7 separate regions of the Homo sapiens genome follow, and all the other regions are linked to region 1. The links are contacts of gene promoters, found by promoter capture Hi-C in blood cells and fetal thymus (Javierre and others, 2016). All regions are on one chromosome and are shown on one strand. Each heading gives the region's core, a stretch centred on a gene start or on the middle of the fragment in contact. The rest is flanking DNA. Distances are from core to core; before and after follow the strand shown. Region 1 holds the start of RAB32 (RAB32, member RAS oncogene family). Region 2 overlaps EPM2A-DT (EPM2A divergent transcript). Region 3 overlaps FBXO30 (F-box protein 30). Region 4 overlaps EPM2A-DT (EPM2A divergent transcript). Region 5 overlaps STXBP5 (syntaxin binding protein 5). Region 6 overlaps EPM2A-DT (EPM2A divergent transcript). Region 7 overlaps STXBP5-AS1 (STXBP5 antisense RNA 1).

The links. Contacts are between HindIII fragments. The CHiCAGO score rates a contact against its expected background, and 5 or more counts as called.
Region 2: a contact is called between a fragment that was not itself captured here and the fragment with the promoter of RAB32 in region 1, in 1 of 17 cell types (monocytes). The highest score is 8.6, in monocytes.
Region 3: a fragment that was not itself captured here is called in contact with the fragment with the promoter of RAB32 in region 1 in 1 of 17 cell types (monocytes); the score reaches 5.5 in monocytes.
Region 4: a contact is called between a fragment that was not itself captured here and the fragment with the promoter of RAB32 in region 1, in 1 of 17 cell types (monocytes). The highest score is 5.6, in monocytes.
Region 5: a contact is called between a fragment that was not itself captured here and the fragment with the promoter of RAB32 in region 1, in 1 of 17 cell types (neutrophils). The highest score is 5.7, in neutrophils.
Region 6: a contact is called between a fragment that was not itself captured here and the fragment with the promoter of RAB32 in region 1, in 2 of 17 cell types (M2 macrophages and monocytes). The highest score is 5.1, in M2 macrophages.
Region 7: a fragment that was not itself captured here is called in contact with the fragment with the promoter of RAB32 in region 1 in 1 of 17 cell types (neutrophils); the score reaches 5.1 in neutrophils.

The regions. Positions count from the first base shown.
Region 1 is chr6:146,542,387-146,545,265 of GRCh38, reverse strand. It overlaps RAB32 (RAB32, member RAS oncogene family), which reads right to left and starts at 1,433. Exons shown (of 3, transcript NM_006834.5): 1 at 1,145-1,433. The coding sequence starts at 1,394. RefSeq lists a silencer at 1,480-1,859. The HindIII fragment of the contact is 5,944 bases long and covers 572-2,879 here.
Region 2 is chr6:145,753,413-145,756,291 of GRCh38, reverse strand. All of the region lies in intron 1 of EPM2A-DT (EPM2A divergent transcript), which reads right to left. It overlaps LOC105378039 (a long non-coding RNA gene), which reads left to right. Exons shown (of 3, transcript XR_007059799.1): 2 at 1,291-1,562. Among named protein-coding and RNA genes, the nearest start is that of EPM2A, 19 kb to the right of the region's middle. The HindIII fragment of the contact is 3,923 bases long and covers 1-2,879 here.
Region 3 is chr6:145,806,023-145,808,901 of GRCh38, reverse strand. FBXO30 (F-box protein 30) reads left to right here. Exons shown (of 3, transcript NM_032145.5): 2 at 2,481-2,879. The coding sequence starts at 2,497. The region is part of intron 1 of EPM2A-DT (EPM2A divergent transcript); the gene reads right to left. Among named protein-coding and RNA genes, the nearest start is that of FBXO30, 7.3 kb to the left of the region's middle. The HindIII fragment of the contact is 3,628 bases long and covers 1-2,879 here.
Region 4 is chr6:145,847,904-145,850,782 of GRCh38, reverse strand. The region is part of intron 2 of EPM2A-DT (EPM2A divergent transcript); the gene reads right to left. Among named protein-coding and RNA genes, the nearest start is that of FBXO30, 35 kb to the right of the region's middle. The HindIII fragment of the contact is 2,602 bases long and covers 218-2,819 here.
Region 5 is chr6:147,216,653-147,219,531 of GRCh38, reverse strand. All of the region lies in intron 2 of STXBP5 (syntaxin binding protein 5), which reads right to left. Among named protein-coding and RNA genes, the nearest start is that of STXBP5-AS1, 13 kb to the right of the region's middle. The HindIII fragment of the contact is 2,032 bases long and covers 492-2,523 here.
Region 6 is chr6:145,874,237-145,877,115 of GRCh38, reverse strand. All of the region lies in intron 2 of EPM2A-DT (EPM2A divergent transcript), which reads right to left. It also overlaps a transcript of SHPRH not described here. Among named protein-coding and RNA genes, the nearest start is that of FBXO30, 61 kb to the right of the region's middle. The HindIII fragment of the contact is 702 bases long and covers 1,152-1,853 here.
Region 7 is chr6:147,195,162-147,198,040 of GRCh38, reverse strand. All of the region lies in intron 1 of STXBP5-AS1 (STXBP5 antisense RNA 1), which reads left to right. Among named protein-coding and RNA genes, the nearest start is that of STXBP5, 7.8 kb to the left of the region's middle. The HindIII fragment of the contact is 3,605 bases long and covers 1-2,879 here.

The DNA.
Region 1 (2,879 bases), core at 184-2,683:
AGGGTCTCACTCTGTTGACCAGGCTGGAGTACAGCAGTGAGAACACAGCTCACTGAAGCCTTGACCTCTCCTAGGGTCAAGTGATCCTCCTGCCTCAGGCTCCTGAGTAGCTGGGACTACAGGCACGCACGACCACACTTGTCTAATTTTTTGTATGTATGTATGTATATATGTATGTATGTATTTTGTAGAGACAGGGTCTCACTAACAGCCCAGGCTGGTCTCGAACTCCTGTGCTCATGCGATCCTCCAGTCTAGGCCTTCCAAAGTGCTGGGATTACAGGCGTGAGCCACTGGCACTTGGCTTGGTACCATTTCTATGAACTTTCCAATAGTTAACATCATCTTTAAAACGCCCACTCCCAACCACCACACCAGGCAAAGTTCAAGTGTTCATAAATCAGAGCAGAGGGAAATGTACCCCCTCAAACAGAACAAATGAAAGCAAATGGCAGAGAAACACTGTATTGAGGAGTGGGGGGGGGGCGGGGGGGGGCGAGGGCACCAGGGATGGGACTAGGTGTTGGTTTAGCAAGAGAGGAAGGGGTGAGTGTAAGGTTTCAGAAAAGCTTTCCCAAATCTTCACGGAGTGTCTGTCCTCGGCTTCCGATGAGAGCAAAGTATTTGAGGAATGGAGTTTCCCTCACAAAGGCCAGTCTCAGAGCCAAGGCGGGTGGTGGAAAATGATCTGGAAAGGAACCTGGCTTTTGGTCTTGGTGGTGTCACTAACTAGGAGTGCAGCTTCGGGTTAAGTCACCCAATCCCTCTGAACTTGAGTTGAGGCTGAGAGGCGCCGGCCCGCTCCAAAGCAGCCTTCTCAACTAGTCCTGGTGTATGTATGATATACTTGCATTATTCAGAGTTCAAACTTCTGGAAAAGGCCCCCTGGCCTCCTCGCCTCCCTTCAGGAGAGCGAGCTCTGGCGTGCAGGACCTGCTCCAACTCCTACTGCCCATCCCATCCTCTGGGCCCCACCGAGTCCAGCCGACCGCGTCCATCGCATCTCGCCCTTGGATTGGGCCTCTCTCTTCTCCTAAAGGTACCCAGGCAGACGAGTTCAGGCAGAAAAGAAAAAGAAAAGAAGCAGAGAGGAGCCAGGCGGCCCGGCGGGGCTCTGGAGTGGGAAACTCGCGGCCGCGCTTACCCGCGATGTCCCACAGCTGCAGGCGCACCAGAGTCCTGCTGTCCCAGTTGAGGACCTTGAGGGCGAAGTCCACCCCGATGGTGGCCCGGTAGTGCTGGGAGAAGAGCTGGTGGACGTAGCGCTTGATGATGCTGGTCTTGCCCACGCCAAGCTCGCCGATCACCAGCACCTTGAAGAGGTGCTCGCGGGTCTCGGGCGCTGGGGCGGCGGCCGCCCCCAGGCCGGGGTCCCCGGCTCCTCCGCCCGCCATGAGCGCTGCGGCTGTCGGGCGCGCCTCGACTCCGAGTCTGGCCCCCTGCCCGGCCTCGCGCTCTGCCGCCGCGCCCCCGGCGGCCGCGGAAACTCCCCCGAGGCCGGCCAGCCCTCCGCCGCGCCCGCTGACGCCGCCTGACCGGTCACAGGACCCAGAACCCGCCAGTGCTCGCGGCCCGGGCGGGGCCAGACGAGGGCAGGGCCGGACGAGGGCAGGGCCTGGCGCCGGCTTGGGGAGGACCCTGCGCGAGGCGGCTCCCGCCCTGCGCCTCTGAAGCCCGGCCGGGCCCAACTGGACTTCCTCTCCCGGGCGGCGCCTCCGAAGCCCGGCCGGGCCCAGCTGGACTTCCTCTCCCGGGCGGCGCCTCCTGGCGGTCGCGGCGCGGAGGGAGGCCCAGACGCCCGCTGGTGGGCCTCCGGGGAGCCGGCCTGGAGCCTTTATGGGCCCCGGAGGTTCACTGGGGGCCTGAGGAGGCGCCGAGGTCGCTGAGCCCCCCCCGGGGCCGGGGTCGGCGTGGGGTCCGGGCCCAGCCTGGAAGCCTCTGGCCTGGAAATCCACCTCCTGCCCTACTCTCCCCGCAGGGAGAGCCACACTTGCGGGCCTTGGCTTGGGTCGCGAGCAGTCCCCTTTAGATGGGAAAGGAAGTGGCACCGTGACTTTGAACTTAACGAAGGACGGATAACACTGGGCTGGTAGTTCTGTTTTTAACTTTTTGAGTGAACCTCCGTAGGGTTTTCCATAATGGCTGTTCCAGTCCGCATTCCCACCACCAGTGTACAAGGTTCCCTTTGCTCCGCACATCACCGACACTTATTATCGCTTATCTTTTTTATAACAGTCATCCTAGCAGGTGTGAGGAGATACCTAGTGGCTTTTCCCTGTTCATTAGTGATTTTGAGCGCCTTTTCTTATACCTGTTGGCAATTTGTACTTCCTCTGGAAAAAAAAAAAAAGTCCATTCACATCCTTTGCCCGTTAGTTAACTGGGTGTTTTATTTATTTATTTTGGCTGAGTTCTGTGAACGTAATGTATTTTGGATATTAACCCCTTATCAGATATATGGCTCACAAATATTTTCTCCCAATCTATAGGCTGTTTTTTCATTTTGTTGATTATTTCCTATGCGGTGCAGAAGCATTTTAGTTGGATGAAGTCCCATTTATCTAGGTTTGCTTTGGTTGCCTGGGCTTTTGGTGTGATATTGCAAAAATCGTTGCTAAAGCCAGTGACCCAGCTATCCCTCTTCTGGGTGTATACTCAAAGGAAATGAAATCAGGATCTCAGAAATCGCTCTCAAGTTCATGCAGCATTATTCACAGTTGCGAAGATTTGGAAACAACCAAAGTGTCTGTTAACGATGAATGGATAAAGAAATTGTAATACATACATAGGCATGCACGCGCGCATATACACAGACGCACACACACACACAATGGAATATCATTCAGCCTTTAGAAGGCGATCCTGACATTTGCAACAAC
Region 2 (2,879 bases), core at 214-2,713, 790 kb after region 1:
TTTACTTCCTTTACTGCATTCCACAGACCACTAAATCTCTGAATCCTCCATTAGTGTTGCAGGCCCTTGAATCTTTGAAGGGATTATATCCAGTCCTCTGAGGTGCATTTGCCTTACAAGGGCATTTGGAGTATTGCAACTTCATGATCCTCAGTTCCAATGATTGCATCAAATACTGCGGCTGGAGGCGATGTTCTGAGAAATGTCTAGAGGATTGAGGTTCCTTTGGACTATATTGTGCTTGAGATCAGGAGAGCTACCAGAGTCCCAGAAAGACTGTGATGTAGTCTACTCTCATCCATCATGATCCATATGGTTTTTGCAAGGGCCAGATTGGTGAATTAGAGGGAGATATGATGTTCCTGTATCCTTTACACTTTTGAGAGAGATATTAATCTCTGCCATTCCATCCAGGATTGGTTGTTTCTAATTTACTGTCTTGCCTGAAGTGAAGGCAGTTTCAAGGATTTCTACTGTTTTCTACTACCTTTTATGTTATGATGATTTTACTCCATGAGTCAAGGAGCCAATCTAAGTTGAGTATTCTTGGGGCCCTCTCCAGAGACAGGGTCAGCTGGTAGCTTCTCTGGTCCTATATTCTGAATACATTACAGCATGTTCATTCCTTTGTCTTTTTATCCCTTTCTAAATACTCCTATTAGGCAATTTCAACATCTTGCCTCATTCACTATATGCTGTGTTTTTTCCCCAAATCCCAAGGATCCATTCCAATAGTGCATTAGGACTGGCTCCATAAGTCCTTGCTGAGATGCTATATCTTGAGTTACAGGAGAGTGCCCTTCACAATGAGTTCACCCTTATCCAGTTTATATTCTACTCCCTCAATTTCAGGTATATCCTCTCAGTTGCTGCTTATGCATATTAGCCAGGCCATGCAGAATGTTTGGTACATAGTTCGTTTCCTCTCATGGAAGAGCAGTTCATCGCCAGTAAGGCTGTGTTGAGGCATAACCCTAGTAACTGCTGTACAAGCCGTGAGTGGAAGTAAGGACAGATTTTAAAAGTCATGGATGTGCTCCTTTCTTCTGTGTAGAATGACTGGGGTAAATGGCCATATATCCCTTAAGTGGGAAGGAATGGGGAAATCACTATTTAAGTACTTGGCTGTAGCATTACAAAATTCTTCCTTAAGGGGAAGGGGATCTAGCATTCTCTTCAATTGAAGGGCTCTAGTTTTCAGAATAGATTCTGGTTTGGAAATTGAGTAAGAAAACAATTTTCTATTATGGTGACTAATGACTGTCTTCTGCTCTGCTCTTGTTCTTATAGGTTGTACATGTCATGCAACATCTTTGTTGGATGCCTACCCATCTTGCCTCTAAAAACACCATGGCTATTAGATATCACCACAGATATCTGTGAGAAAGAGTTCCTCGGTTATTATTCTGTCTTTGTTATCTATATATTGGATCTTCCTTAAGTGAGACTTCTGCATGATCTCCAAGCAAGGAGAGGCTATCTAGCATGGGGGAGTGGAGGTCTTACATAGCACAGAGGGGTCAAGATTTTCAAGCACAGAAGACCAGATGTTTCTGTTTCAGGTCTCTGGGTCCCATTTCTTCTTTATGACGACTCTGTATTTGGCATAGGAGAATTGCTGGGGCTGTGAATTTAGCATTATTTGAAATTTAAATAATTCCACAATTAGACCTTGCATCTGATTTTCAGCAGCCTTCCCTCTGGCTATGGCAAAGAGGGTAGGGTCTCTTTCATGCTACAGCTACTACGTAAGTATGGGAACCCAATCTTCCACAAATGAGAGTCTATAGATTTGATACTATACTACTAGGAATGGGATTCTTGTTGCTCTATGCCCAGGGAGTTATTCAATTTCTGAATCCCATCCTGAAGATTTGCTCCATAGAGCAATGTATGATATCAATTATTTTAGTTTGAATTATCCCAGAAGCAGATTTTGAAATCAGGATTTAAATGCATATGGTTTATTTGTGGGATGAAGGCAACCCTAGTAGGAAGGCGAGGAAGATAACCAACTACCACTGTGGACAACTGGAGCTTAACCCCACTAGATAAACTCAGAGAGCCAGTGTGAAGCACTCCTCAGTTGTCCCAGCAGAGGAGACGATGGAGCCAGAGTACATTTATACCAATTCCCATCCGTCATTGTTGAAGGGTGCTCTATGGGTATTTTTCAGCACTTCTGGTCCAGTTGCACAACAAAATGTGCTTTAACAGCAAGTGAAAGCTCCTGGGCAAAGACCTTAGGCATTGAGAGCTGTGTGCATTGAAGTGCTAAAAGCAAGGGCTATGGGTGGGATGCTGACAGCCTCAGCCAAACAAAATCGTATTATAAATGTATACGTGAGAAATAAAACTATAAAGAGAATAAAGAAATGATTATCACAAAATGGACGTTTTAAATGTTTTAAAATAGATATGAATTATTTAACTTGCTCTAATTATGGTTTGGATTTTCACAAGTAGTTTCTATCTGGCATCTCAAACTATTGAAGCACTGGTTGTATTTTAATGATTAATAAGATATATTGCCAAATTCCAATTTACTGAAGAACAACTTAGTTAAGAAATAAATCAATCTGACTTAAGCCCTTGTGTTATAAACGTAGGCTTCATGCTTATTTTTATGGCCATGCTTCTGTTTAATTTAGCACATTTATTCCTGAATTCTGAAGATATCAGTCTTATAATGCATATTATTGACAGGTCTTTCCCTCCATTGCCACTATAATCTTTACTATGAAGAGAAAAATTAATGAGCTGTATTTGCCAAGGTTTACCTGTGTGAATGAACTCTCCTCTCTCTTAATGCAAATATAATATTCTAGATACATGTTATATTCTTGAAACCAACCAAACTATTAATAATGTTTGATGAT
Region 3 (2,879 bases), core at 115-2,614, 740 kb after region 1:
AAAGATAATAGCAATTGAGGAGTGATTAATTAGTTACCTGGAGCCAAGATAGATTTTATGGAAAAATATGTCAGAGAGTTAATAATCTCTTACGCACTGAGGTGAAGAAAACAGGATAAGAATCACCTTCCTATCCAGAAAATTCTTGTCTACTACAATGTAATTTAATTTTGGAAATGTTGAACTGAGTTGCCTGTGCCATATACAAGTAGAAATATATCATAAGTAATCCATTGTAGAGAGTGAAGAGGAGTTTGAAAGAGGAATCTGGGCAGCATGTATAGACGGATTTTCAGCTTATGTATGGTAATTGAAACTTTTGGAGAAAATGAGAGCACCCAGGGAGAATGTACAGAATAAGCAAAAAATGACACAAGCCCTGAAGAAATGCAATATTTAAATAATTATTATTGAGTAATAGTTAAGAAGACTAAGGGTAGGAGAAAGACTGGAGTGACATCATGAAAAGTAAGAGGATGTAATAGTCCTAAAATAAGGGATTAGTCATCATCAGGATACAATGGCCAAGGAAGATGGGGTCTAGAAAAATATGCCTCCAGATTTAGTATTGAGGTTCTCAGCAGAGCAGTTTTAATAGGGGTAGTAAAAATGGGGCCAGAATAGAGAGTTAAAGAATATATAGGAAATTAGACGTTTTTTTTTGGTGGTTTTCAGTTTTTCTTTTGAAAGTTTGACTGGATAAGAAAAAAAAAATGGTGGTAAAGGGGGGATATTATGTTATTATTTCAATTATTATTATTATTTTTTGAGACAGAGCCTCACTCTGTCACCCAGGCTGGAATGCAGGGGTGCACAGTCATGGCTTACTGCAGCCTCAATCTCCTGGGCTCATTTGAGCCTCCTGCCTTGGCCTCCCAAGTAGTTGGGACTACAGGTGCATGTCACTATGCCTGGCTAATTTTTTTGTTTTTATTTTGTAGAGACAGGGTCTTGCTATGTTGTCCAGGCTGGTCTTGAACTCCAGGCCTCAAATGACCCTCCTATGTTGGCCTCCCAAAGTGCTGGGATTACAGGTTTGAGCCACCGTGACTATTATTTTAGTTTTTAAAGGTTAAATAATCTTTTAAAGTTTTTATTGCTAATAGGAAACACACCAGTAAAGAAGTTGATTATACTAAAAATACATTGAATAGGCTCAATAATTATAATTAAGTCAATATATTATGGTTAGACTTTTATTTTTCATATAAAACTTTTCTTTATAAAGGTTATGATGGAAATTTTAAAGCAGGGAAGACCATTAGACATCTATAATCCATTCATGTTATTTTATAGAACTATTTCTCTGCTTAAAATTCTCAGTGACTTCCAGTTGTAAAAGTGTGAACTCTTTGGAGCAGCATAAAGCACTCATCATGATTTGCCTTATTCCTTTCTGACCTCATCTCTTACAGATACCTGGCATTTTCCCCTGTGATCCAACAATACTAGGGAACTTGAGGTTTTGCTAATTCATGCTTTTCTGTATTTGCATATGCTATTACTTCTGCATTGAATGCCTCTCTTTCTTACCAGTTTACCGTCCCATACTTAAGACTTCTCTTTCAAGACTACTGTGATTTATTCTCTAATCCCTACTCATATTGATTATTATCTTCTCTATTGGTACCATTTTACTTCTGTCAAATTGACCACATAAAAACGAGATACACTTTTTACTGTCTTTGACATCCTGCTGTAGCTTTTTGAGAGGAGGCACTGTGACTTGCTAATCTTTATATTGCCACACCAAACACAGTGCATGGTCCATGATAGTTAAACAATAAATAGGCATTTAATGAATGAATGTGGCCCTCAAAAGTAAGTTATTTGCCCACAGCCACAGAGCTTGAGCTTGAACTTTTATTTTCTGGATAAATTCCTTGTATGTTCTAATTAAGACTTACTTAATTTGTGGCAGAATTTATTAAGGCATATATAGAAGGAGAGATCAATAGATGAAATCTTAAATGAATTCATTTAGAAGGAATAAAAAAAGACTTCTAAGAAAGTTTTAAATATATTCATGAAATTCATATTGTTCTTTTAGTAATACAAGATCTCTGAAATGTGGGGTACAATCAAAATCAGTTTAGTTGAAATTAGAAAGGTAAAAGTGAAAAACACTCTGAAATCTAAAATACACATTAACTTGTTTTTAACATTAAATAATACACAGTATTAGAATTTAAATAGTATATTTTGAAACTTTTGCCCTTTTAGGCATATTGTTATATAGTATATAAAAATGAACCGTTATGACATTCTACAGTATTGAATTGTTACTAGAATGTAAGTGCTTACATCCTTTCAAGACATTGATTATATGTAAAATTAACTGGTTAAGTATGTTTATTTTATATATGTCATCCTAAAATAAACCAAGATATTAGATAAATTAGTGATTTAATTATTAAACAATTTTGAAAAATCAACCATTTTTTGGCTAATTTCTTATCTTTTTCCATTTCATCAACCAGAGCTGGACTGGCCATTATGGAGGAGGAGCTGCAGCATTCCCATTGTGTGAATTGTGTCAGTAGACGGTGCATGACCAGGCCAGAGCCAGGGATTTCCTGTGATTTGATTGGTTGTCCATTGGTTTGTGGTGCAGTTTTCCATTCTTGTAAAGCTGATGAGCATCGACTTTTATGTCCATTTGAACGAGTGCCTTGCTTAAATAGTGACTTTGGATGTCCATTTACCATGGCCCGAAATAAAGTTGCTGAACATCTAGAAATGTGTCCTGCAAGTGTGGTGTGCTGTACTATGGAATGGAATCGATGGCCAGTTAGTTATGCAGACCGGAAATCATATGAAAATCTAAGCAGAGATGTCGATGAAGTGGCACAATTGGATATGGCCTTGGCTCTTCAAGA
Region 4 (2,879 bases), core at 269-2,768, 690 kb after region 1:
AAATGTTTCTATCTGTAGCATCCAATAGCCAGTAGACATTCATGGGCATTGAACCCTTGAAATGTGAATAGTGTAACTGAGAAATGAAATTTTTAATTTAGTTTAGTTAAATTTAAATAAAACAGTCACAGGTGGCTAAAAGTTACTGTATTGAGCAGAGTAGATCTGTGATGGAGAAGTTTCCACTTGTCATCACAAAAGACAGCACAAAAAAGCTTTTGTAAGATACTAATTAAAACCTATGAGAACCAAAATAAAGCTCTTCCAGCCACTCTCTATGATTTCATTCCACCCACTCTTCCTCTTCCCTCTTCCCTGCCAGACAAAACACACACAAGATAAACACACGCATAACACACATAGACACAGACTCTCTGTCTGTCTCTCTCTCTCTCTGTGTCTCTCTCTCTGTGTGTCTCTCTCTGTCTCTCTCTCTCTCTCTCTCTCTCTCTCTCTCTCTCTCTGTCTGTCTCTCTATCACATCAGAAAAATAGTTATTTCCTGAGTAGTATGTCCTGGACTTCCGTGTTGACCAGGACTTGCTACTGTTGTTTTCTCTGCCTGAAATGCCCCTCCCCACTAGCCTTGCAAATGTCTCCTTCCTTCTCAAAATCTCATAGTTCCTTTCTTGGTCCCCTGAGTCCCCTTAACAGAATTGATTGTTCCTGTGTTCCTAGGTGTGATGGTTAACTGTATGCGTCAACTCACCTGTGCCATGGTGTGCTCAGAGTAAACATTATTTCTGGCTGCGTCCATTGGGGTATTTCCACATGAGATTAGCATTTCAATCAGTGGACTCAATAAATAAAGTAGATGGTTGTCACTGGTATAGGTTGGCACCATCCAACCTGTTGAAGGCCCAAATAGAACAATAACAAAAAAAAAAAAAAAAATGGAGGAAGGAGGAATTTTTCCCCTTTGCTTCCTGCCTGATTGCCTGAGCTGAGATATCAGTCTTCTCCTGCACTTGAACTGAAATTTACACCTTCCGCTCCCCTGGTTCTCGGGCCTTCAGAATTGGACTGGAATTATACCACTGGCTTTACTGGGTCTCCAGCTTGCAGATTATGAGACTTTTCAGCCTCCATAATTGTGGGATCCAATTCCTCATAATTTCTCTCTCTCTCTCTGGAGAACTCTGACTAATACACTAGCTATAAATGACCTCTGTGATTTAAAATTAATTTTTTATCAACTGAGGATGGATTGCTGGATTAGTAAAAAAAAAAAAAGAGAATGGGGACTAGAAGATCACAATCCAAACTGATTTCACAGAACTGCACAGGGCATGAAATGTCCCTGGTAGCACGTCAACCAATCATGTTTTGTAACAATCTTGGCTTTGCTCCAATTATTCAAAAGATGATTAGTACACATTACTTTTGACAGTTTTGCTATATTTCCTTCAGTTTAGCAATGAGAATTTGTGTTACAAATGCACCTCATTATCTTGCGTAAAACATAGAATTTCCAGTTTGGGGCTTTTTAGTAGAAAACAATGGCATGCAGGATACTGATATGACTCTTGTGAATGAGTTGACTTCAGGAGCCCAACTTTACTCTGATGCTATTTAATATGCCCAAGGTATCCCCATAGTTTGCAAGAATAAGGCAGACTACAAAAGAAATCTTTAAAGGTGCCTTCCAAGAAAAGTGTAAATATTAAATTTGAATATCTCTCACTACTAATGGGAAGTCAAGATGCACCCCTCAGATAAAAAGAACTTGCTATTCACCTGGAGTAGTGCAGTCAGTTGAGAGCCTCCTGCTCTAATGCCCTCAGAAGACTGGATAGCTCCCAGCCAATGCCTGGGTATGATGTACCAGGGCCTAGCCATCTGTCCCTTATGCAGAGCTCCTCCTCTGTCAATGTTTGCACCAGAGCTCTCTTGCTTCGCCGAGGTTTTGTCAGTACTATACTTATTGCCCTTTGAGGCTAGTCATATCCAATCCTCCTTCCTTCCTATTCTCCTTTCCACAGGGGTCAGACTTACATCACAGTCTGAGTCTTTCCCTGTCTATTCCTACTCCCTTTTCCCCTTTATCTTTCACTGGAATTACTCTTGATTAATTTCTTGCTCTTCTAATTACATTTTGGTGTCTGTTTCCCAGGAGACATAAACTGATAGAATTAGATCCAATTTTAGAAACAGGAATCAGGCCTATAGAAGCACAGGACTTGCCTCCATGGCCTCTCCATCTGCTTCTAGGTTGAATCAGGAAGAGGAACATATATTGTTTATTAGTTTTTATTCATTTTTTCTTTAAAAGTTGGTCTTTTGTGGAACTGTGTTCCAGAAACAGAAATAGGTTCAGCTACTGCCAAGAACTTTTTCCCCTATTTGATCCATAAAGTAAAAGAAGGTCACTGTAACTGGCAAAGTGAGATTATCTAGTTTTGCTATGCCAGTAAGAACGAATTAAGACAATTTTTTTCCAATAGGAACATACATCAATATAAACCCATATAAATGTGTATAATTTTTCTATTGCCTAGAAAAGATCTATAATTCTGTTTCTTAGAATATATGCTTCCCACTAGACCAAACACAAATTTGAAAAGAAAAAATATTCTGGAATTGTCTCTTTTTTGAAAAACATATGAAATATTTATGCTTAGGCCAATCATAAGAAAAACCCTAAATTCAAATGCAGAATTCTCTAAATTCTTTGGCTTATTGTAGACACAACTAGAACATCCTGATATTCAGAAGTTTGGCTTTGTAGAATGATGATACCTCAATTAAATCTAACCATCCTGTGGAAATTTAGATTATACTTGGTAGTAAATCATAATTCTGCGAAGACATTACAAAGCTTATAAAACTATACGATTTTTTTCACATATTAAAATAAGTAAGAAATCAATTTAAACTTAT
Region 5 (2,879 bases), core at 258-2,757, 670 kb before region 1:
ATAGAAAGTACCAGGACCAGATGGGTTGACTGGTGAATTATAACAAGTTTCTAGTCTCTTTCAGAAGATAAAGGCAGAGGAAATATATCCTAACTCATTTTATGAGCCCAGCATTACACTAATATGAATACCAAAGGCATTACGAGAAAAGAAAACTAAGATCAATCCTTCTCATGAAGATGGATGCAAAAATTCTCAATACAATTTTTACCAAACTGAATTCAACAGTGTATAAAAAGAATCACACAGCATGACCAAATGGGATTTATACCAGGTATGCAAGTCTAGTTCAACATTTGAAAACATTTAGAAAACATTTTTCTAAAAAAAGAAAAATCACATGATTATATCAACTGATGCAGAAAATCCAACACTCATTCCAGATAAACACTGTCGGTAAACTACGAATACAGGTGAAGTTGCTCAACTTGATAAAGAACATCTACATAAAAACTACAGCTAACACACTTAATAGCAAAACACTCAAAGCTTCTCCACTACAATCAGAAACAAGGCAAGGATATCCCTCTTATCACGCCTTTCAACACTGTAATGGGAGCACCAGCTAATGCAATGAGCAAAGGAAATAAAAGGTATGCACATAGATTAGGAAGAAAGAAAGAAAACTTTCTTTGTTCATTGATAACATGATCAACTATGCAGCTATCAGAAAGAATGAACAGAAAAACTCCTGCAACCAATATGTGATTATAGCAAGGTGGCCAGGATATGCAAGGTTAACATACAAAACTCATTCACACCCAGGCACAGTGGCTTATGCCAGTAAACCCCAGCACTTTGGGATGTGAGATCACTGCAGCCCAGGAGTTCAAGACAAGCCTGGCCAACATGCCAGGACCTTGTCTCTACAACAAATTTAAAAATTAGTTGGGTGTGATGGTGTGCACCTGTGGTCCCAGTTACTCAGGAGGCTGAGGTGGAAGGATTGCTCGAGCCCAGGAGATCGAGGCTGCAGTGAGCTGTGTTTGTACCACTGCACTCCAGCCTGGGAAACAGAGCAAGACTGTCTCTAAAAAAGAAAAAAAAACCAAAAAACATAGTCATTCATTTTCTTATATACCAGAAAAGAACCAGTGGAATTTGAAATAATTAATTTGAAATTATTTGAAATTTATATTAGCACCCCAAAAAATGAAATACTTAAATATAAATCTAACAAATATGTACAAGATCTACACGAAGAACAGCACAAAACTCTGCAGAGTGAGAATATTCTGTATGATATTATAATGATGAAAGACATGTAATTATATTTGTCTAAACACATAAAATGTGCAAAGAATGAGCCCTATCATAAACTATGGACTTTGGATGAAAATGATGTGTCAATGTAGATTCAATGTACCACTCTGCTGATAATGGAGGAGGCTACGAATGTTTTGGGACAGGCAGGGAGTATATATAATATCTCTGTACCTTCCACTTACTTTTGCTGTGAACCTAAAACTGCACTAAAAAATGAAGTCTATTTAGAAAATATATTAAAAATGAAGATAGCCACATCATCATGATAAGAGTAGGCAAAATTAATTTTTACTGCTTACTCAATGCTTATATTCTGCTAATCTCATTTAAGAAAAACTACAAAATGAACTATTTCTGCAGTAAAAATTTAACAAGATGCTAAGAATAGCCATGAAAAATGTGCACATCAACATTTAAAACTTTAAGTCAAGACAACTGTAACATTTTACAAATGTCCAACAGTATCTGAAAATTTAGGTCGGTCAACTGCTTTTTTGTTTTAATGTGAATAAAACAAGCACCAAAACAGAAAAGTAATTGCAACATTCAGACTAATACATAATTATAGTATTCACTGGGTTGGAATAAGCCTCTAGTTACCTCCTTCCACTATTATTTTTAGTAAGAAATTTTTTATTATTTGTGAACAAATTAGAGTGGTTGAAAACAATCATTCTTAATATTCACTGTTTTGGAGTTAGGACTGTTTTTGAAGAGGCAAAAATGAATTATATTTGTCATCACAGGCAATTCTTTAGAATGGCTTTTGATAGATAAATATACTTTTAAAGGAACCACTTGCTCAAACTACTATTTACTACGTAGTCATAAATAATAGTGGTCTGGGTTAAATGAACAAGAAAGAATGTAAATTCTCACATATAAGTAAAAACAGCTTTTTATCCCAGCATCCATTCCCAGATGCCTAATGGCTAAGTTCTTTTCTCAAGTATGTTAAGTGAATTTTAAAAGAAAAATACAACACATTATGAAAAATACAGTACAAAGACTGAACAGATGGAAAAATCTGTTTCAACACTTTTTTTTTTCCTTTTCAAAAGACAAAAAGAGACAAACGCACAAAGGAAAACCATTTAGCAGAAAGTACTGCAATAGCTGATGCGGCCAGATTTATAGTCACCTTTGACAGAGAGCTGCTGTGAAACAGCAGAGGTACTGCCATCACAAGAAAAGATTACGTACTTTAAAGAAAGAGCAGGATTAAGCACTCAACAAACAACTTCACAAGGAAAAGCTTCAAAGTTCCAGACTGCACTTATTTGAAAATAAAAAACAAGACCAAACACTATTATTAAAACACCTCCAATTGTTTAAAACTTGCTGTTTAACAATAGCTACCATGTGAGTTCTAGGACTCGTCATATATCTTACAAATAACAAGCTGTATAAAGCAAACCTTATTTTTCAAATGAAGATTAATATAAAACAAAAATTATCAGCTATTTTTTATTTAAAAACCTTTCTGGGTGAATGCTCACGTTAAAATCATAGCTCCAATAAATATAAAGAAATATGCTCAGCATGTTATCATTTCATTTATTTGTCATATATATATTTTTACATATACTTCCAAAAGAATACTAGTTGGAGAA
Region 6 (2,879 bases), core at 253-2,752, 670 kb after region 1:
GTGTTAAATGGAGTTACCACATGACCCAACATTTCTACTCCTAGGTATTTACCTGTAATAGTCTGCTAGAGCTGCCATAACAAAATACCACAGACTGAGTAAATTAAACAACAGAAATTTATTTATTACAGTTTTGGAGCCTGGCAGTTGAAGATTACAGTGCTGGCAGGTCTGTTTTCTTCTAAGATCTCTCTCCTTTCTTGCAGATGGTTGTTTTCTGTATCCTCACATGGTGTTTCCCTGTGCGGACAGGCCCCTGATGGCTTTTTATAAGGACACTATTCATACGGGATTAGAGCCCCCATCCTAGCAGCTTTACTTTAGCATAACCACCTCTATACACACCTTATCTTTAAATACAGTTACATCCTGAGATACTAGGGGTTGGGACTTCAAATTATGAATTTGGTGGAGCCACAGTTCAGCCTATAATAATAATGGAGAGAAATGAAAACATGTGTTCACAGAAAAACTTGTATGTGAATATTTATAGCAGCATTATTTATAGTAGGCAAATGTGGAAACAACCCAAATGCCTATCAAACGATAAATGGATAAATCAAATATGGTTATACTTCTAATGGAATATGATTTGGACAAAAAAGAAATGAAATACTTATACATGCTACAACATGGATGAACCTTAAAAACATTATGCTAAGTGAAAAAAAGCAGTCCCAAAATACTGTATATTTCTGTTTATAAGAAATGTCTAGAATAGGCAAATCTTTATTTTTTTTAGAGGATGGGTTCTCACTCTGTCACCCAGATGGGAGTGCAGTAGCAGTATCATAATTCACTGCAGCCTGAAACTCCTGGGCTTAAATGATCCTCCTGCCTTGGCCTCCTCAAGTAGCTGGGACTACAGGTGTACACCGCCACTCCTCATAAGAACAGGCAAATCTTTAGAGACAGAAATTACATTAGTGGTTGCCCAGGACTAGGAGAGGAACTGGAGTGACTGCTAATGGGCATGGGGTTTCTTTATGGAGTAATGAAAGTGTTCTAAATTTAGACTGTAGTGATAGTTGCACAACTTTGTGAATCTACTAAAAACCACTGACTTGTACACTTTAAATGGCTGAATTTCATGGTGTGTGAATTGTATCTCGAAGATATTTTTGAAACATTTTTAAAGTAGCACAAAAGCTTATTTTAAAAAATATCATTTGGCATGCAAAACTTCGGCAGAGCCAATTGTAGATGAAAATGAGACAGATGGCCTTCAAAATATGAAGCACACATTGTAAAGAATGTTGTACTCCAGGCCTGTGAATCTCACTGATATCTGGCAGCCACAGTTAAAATGTTGTAGCATCTGGAATTGCGGGCTGTAATTGAAACTCAACTGAAGAGCTTTCTGTGGAGCTGGAATGACCAGCCAATGCATAAAGTTGTTAAACATGAAACAAAGATAACTATTATCTTTTAAAAACCTCTCATTAACCCTCATGACGTTCTTGGGTGAAGGTCTAATCTGGCACACTTGCTAACTTCTAATAAAGAATCAAATGGTCTTCCAACTCACATAATGACTAATTCTAAAGCATGCAACCTCAAAGTACTACATTCTCCCTGTTCTAGAAATACAACCCTAGAGGGCCAGTCTTCCTTCAGCATTCAAATATTGAGTAGAACAACTGAACTGTAAGGTTCAACTAAAGGAATGCAACTGTGACTTGAGCTGTGGAACGGCTATGGCCTAAGTCAAGAATTCTCAACCTCAGCACTAGTGATTGACATTTTGGGCCAGGCAATTCTTTCTTCTGGGGCCTGTCCTATGCATTATAAGATTGAGCAGCATCCCTGGCCTCTACCCATTAGATGCCAGAAACATACTCCACCCCCAAGCTTTGACAACCAAAAATGTTTCCAGAAATTTCCAATATCTCCTGGGGCTTAAATCAAGAACCACTGGCATAAGCCAAGGAAGAACTAACCATTTACCATGGTACAGGATGAGTATCCCATATCTTGGGACCAGAAGTGTTTTGGATTTCAGATTTTTTAATATTTGCATTATGTGCTTACTGGTTGAGCATCTGAAATCCAAAATGCATTTCCCTTGAGACTTATATCAGTGCTCAAAAGGTTTCAGTTTTGAAGCATTTCAAATTTGGGATTTTGGGATTTGGGATGCTAATCTGCAATAACATAGACCATGTACCAAAAGAAAAAAATCGATATGTTTAATTTGTACTTCATTTATTCAAGCTCTGTGGAGTTTAAATATTCAGAATATTATGCAAAAACCAGTTTCCTTGATCATACTAAGTTTTGATGACCATAATCATTGACAAGTTTATTCAGGAGATTTTCATATGTTGCTCTAAAGTTTAAACCCAATGCTGAAATGCCAGCTTGGAGCCACATAAGGAATGAGCTGTTTGTATTCTATTAAAAGACTGCCCTTGAAAATTTACAGATGAAAAAACTTCAAGGGGATAAAAATGTGATTTTAAAATCAATTTTGCCACCTAGTAAAGGATTTGCTAAATGGATAACTATGAGGTGATGGATGTGTTAATTATCTTGATTTTGGTAATCATTTCAGAATGTATATGTATATCAAAACATTACATTATACACCTTAAATATGTACAATTTTTGTATGTCAATTATACCTTAATAAAGCTCAGAATAAAAAAAAATGCTGTCATTAACAGAGAGTTTGCAAATACACTCAAAGTCTTTATCATTAAGGACACGGACACCAGGCAGCATGATGGAACTCACTTTCATTGTTCTTCCAGCCTATCAACTGAATCACATAAGAATGAAAGATGAAGTAAAGTTTTGATACGGTGTACTTCAAGGTTTTTAAATGTGAATTTATTGCATTCTGAAACTATGGTGTAGATGACATCTGCCCACACATT
Region 7 (2,879 bases), core at 267-2,766, 650 kb before region 1:
GAAGCTGGGATTACAGGCACCCGCCACCATGCCCGGCTAATTTTTGTATTTTTAGTAGAGATGGGGTTTCACCATATTGGCCAGGCTGCTCTTGAACTCCTGACCTCAAGCGATCCTCCCAGCTTGGTCTCCCAAGGTGTTAGGATTACAGGCATGAGCCACAGCGCCTGGCCATCTTTTTTTTTTTAATTAAAAACTATGCAGCACGCAAAGTAGTACTCTTCATCTGAAAAATAGGTCAGTAACTAAACACCAACATACTAATAGAAAACTGTCTGCTTTTTCCCCTCAGAGAGAGTTGCCTGACAGGGCAGCCCAGTGAGACAGTGTTAATTGAGACCGATGTAACAGTGCCTGCCATCGTAGGCTCTGGGGCTGTGTCACCCCTCTTAGTCACTGAACTGTGGAACATTTAGATGCAAACTCTTTTCTTTCTGGTCAACCCTAAAGATTACCACATAAGAAATCAAAAAGGACCAAAACAAAAACCTTAACATAAGGAGGGTGGGAACACTTTCTCTAAAGACCCATCAGAGCCAAGAGAATCATATTAATACTAACAATGAAAACATGCAAAGGATGCTAATTAACTCTTAGAAGTTTTTTGCAGAAGGTAGGAAAGCACAGTCTGTATCCATGGGATGGAGTTCCTCCAAGCAGGACTAGGTATCTAGCTTTAAACTCAGAATGGATTTTTTAAAATGTGTTTGTAGGAAACACTACACACTTGGTCCAAAGATAATGTACCTGCAGACCTAAAACTGGAGTACCTGCTTCCCCCAGCCCGGGTCAAACAGCTTCCACTTTGGGGTAAATTTCTGGCCTCCTAACTACCTTTAGGCTTCCGCATCAGCTGCTCTTTTTTTATGGCATTCTATTATTCTATTTTCACACTTCCCTAGTCCCAATTCCACCTTTAGTAGCCATCACACTGTTCCTGATTCTATGACCAATGGCACAAACTAAGTTCCTTTAGGAATGCAATTTTTTAAATGCAAAATCTCCATTAAATTACCTGGTAACATGTTAGTTAACCAAAATGTTAGTAAACCAAAATGTTAGTAAAATGAATATAAAAAATATGGACTCTACCCCAAATAAAACTGGGCCTTTTAATTCTCAGCATACTCTCTCTCTTTCTCTCTTTCATGCAAACACACACACACACACACACACACACACACACACACCCCTAGCTCCAAAGACTTGGAAAACAATTTAGATATTGTTTTAATCTGTTAAGGCCACTTTTGAAGGAAGATAAAACACTTAGCATAGAAAAACATCCTCTGAGTTCTCTTCACCCTTTTATCAGCTTCCCCACCACCTTCTACCCCAGCTCAGGGCAGTTTTTCAAATACTCCCCCGCCACCCCCATGTCCCTCTCTCCTCAGAAAGCCCAGCCTTTGCTGGATGGCTTACTTGCTCTCTCCAAATACCCCCTCATCTCACCTCCTAGACTGTTCTGTTCTATATATTTTCTTATGTAGCACTATATACTCCCTTCTCCCTGACACTCAGCTGATAGCCTTAGCTAATCAGGAAGGGAAAAAATGGTGAATAGGTCAGAAGCACAAAGAACGAATATTCTTTACAAAGGAAGGACAAGCAATGTAACTACTTACACTTTGGTATTTTAGTTCCAATCTATTCCTGGCCCATAAATAAATCGAGAGAAAAAAATAATCGTGATGTTGGGGACACAAAATGATTAAAGTCTATAAAGCAAGGGAGGGATGGAAGGTAATAGTGTTAGTGCATTTTCCAAGATAGAGGATCAAAAGTCTGAATCTTAGTGTTTGTTTACCTGCCAGCAGGGTGAGCATTAGTATTTCATCCCACAAACATTAACTGTGGGCCTACTATGTGACAGGTATCTTGCTGGATGTTGTGGGGAATACAAACATGATTCAACTTGGTTTTGGTAACCAATGGGATGGCAATTTAGTGGTAGGGAAGCAGAATCCCCGAAAGGTAAGACAAACCCAATGTCAAAGGCATGTTTTTATTCTCCTGAGGATAATTACTCTGTCTCATTTCACACTCTGTAGAAACACTCTCCCACTGGGCATATACTCATCACCACGGTACTTGGTCCCAGAGCATGGGCCTCCAAGGATAGAACTCTTAGGGTTGGAAAACGTGGCGGGTGGAGGAGGCAGTTCCCTGAAATCATTCAATCCCTTGTCACTCATTCAGAACCTCTAACTACTCCCACTAAATTTCATCCAGGTCAGCATGACCCAAATATTTGTACCAAGACTTAATCTCCTTGTTCAACAGGCCCCCAGTACAACTTCCCTTCCTTGGTTTCCTCATAACCGTAATGACAGTATAACCTCAAGGTGTGGCTTCATAATTAAAGTAAATGGGGGTTTTCACATTTGCATACAAGATAGTCACTATTCACCCTTCAGCATGGAGTGCCATGCCTCTTTCCATTTTTGTTGTGATGAAATAAGAAATGATCCTTTCATTCCAAGACTATAGGAAGAAAAAGAAAAGGGATACCAGGCTGTTTCTTTGCTTCACATCATTTTTTAGCAGCTGGATATGACTGCACTTTTGAGAAGAAAGTGAAAACAAAGTAGTTTGAGACTATCAGTCAACCAAAAACATTTTTGATTAGGGCCAATAGATTTGTGAGGGTAAAGGAAACACCGTGAAGATTTTAGTGACACTGTGGGTTACATCTATCAATGAGTCACATTCTCTGCCCTGTATTATTTCAAATGATTCATATTTACTTTTCAGTCATGAAGTTTGTTTTTTCTAACTTAATATAGGATGTGTCCAGTGACCTACAAGAGCATCCAAATTTAGTAATCTGTAGTTTGCCTAAAATGTGCATATCATTGATACATAAATTCCTAGGCAGT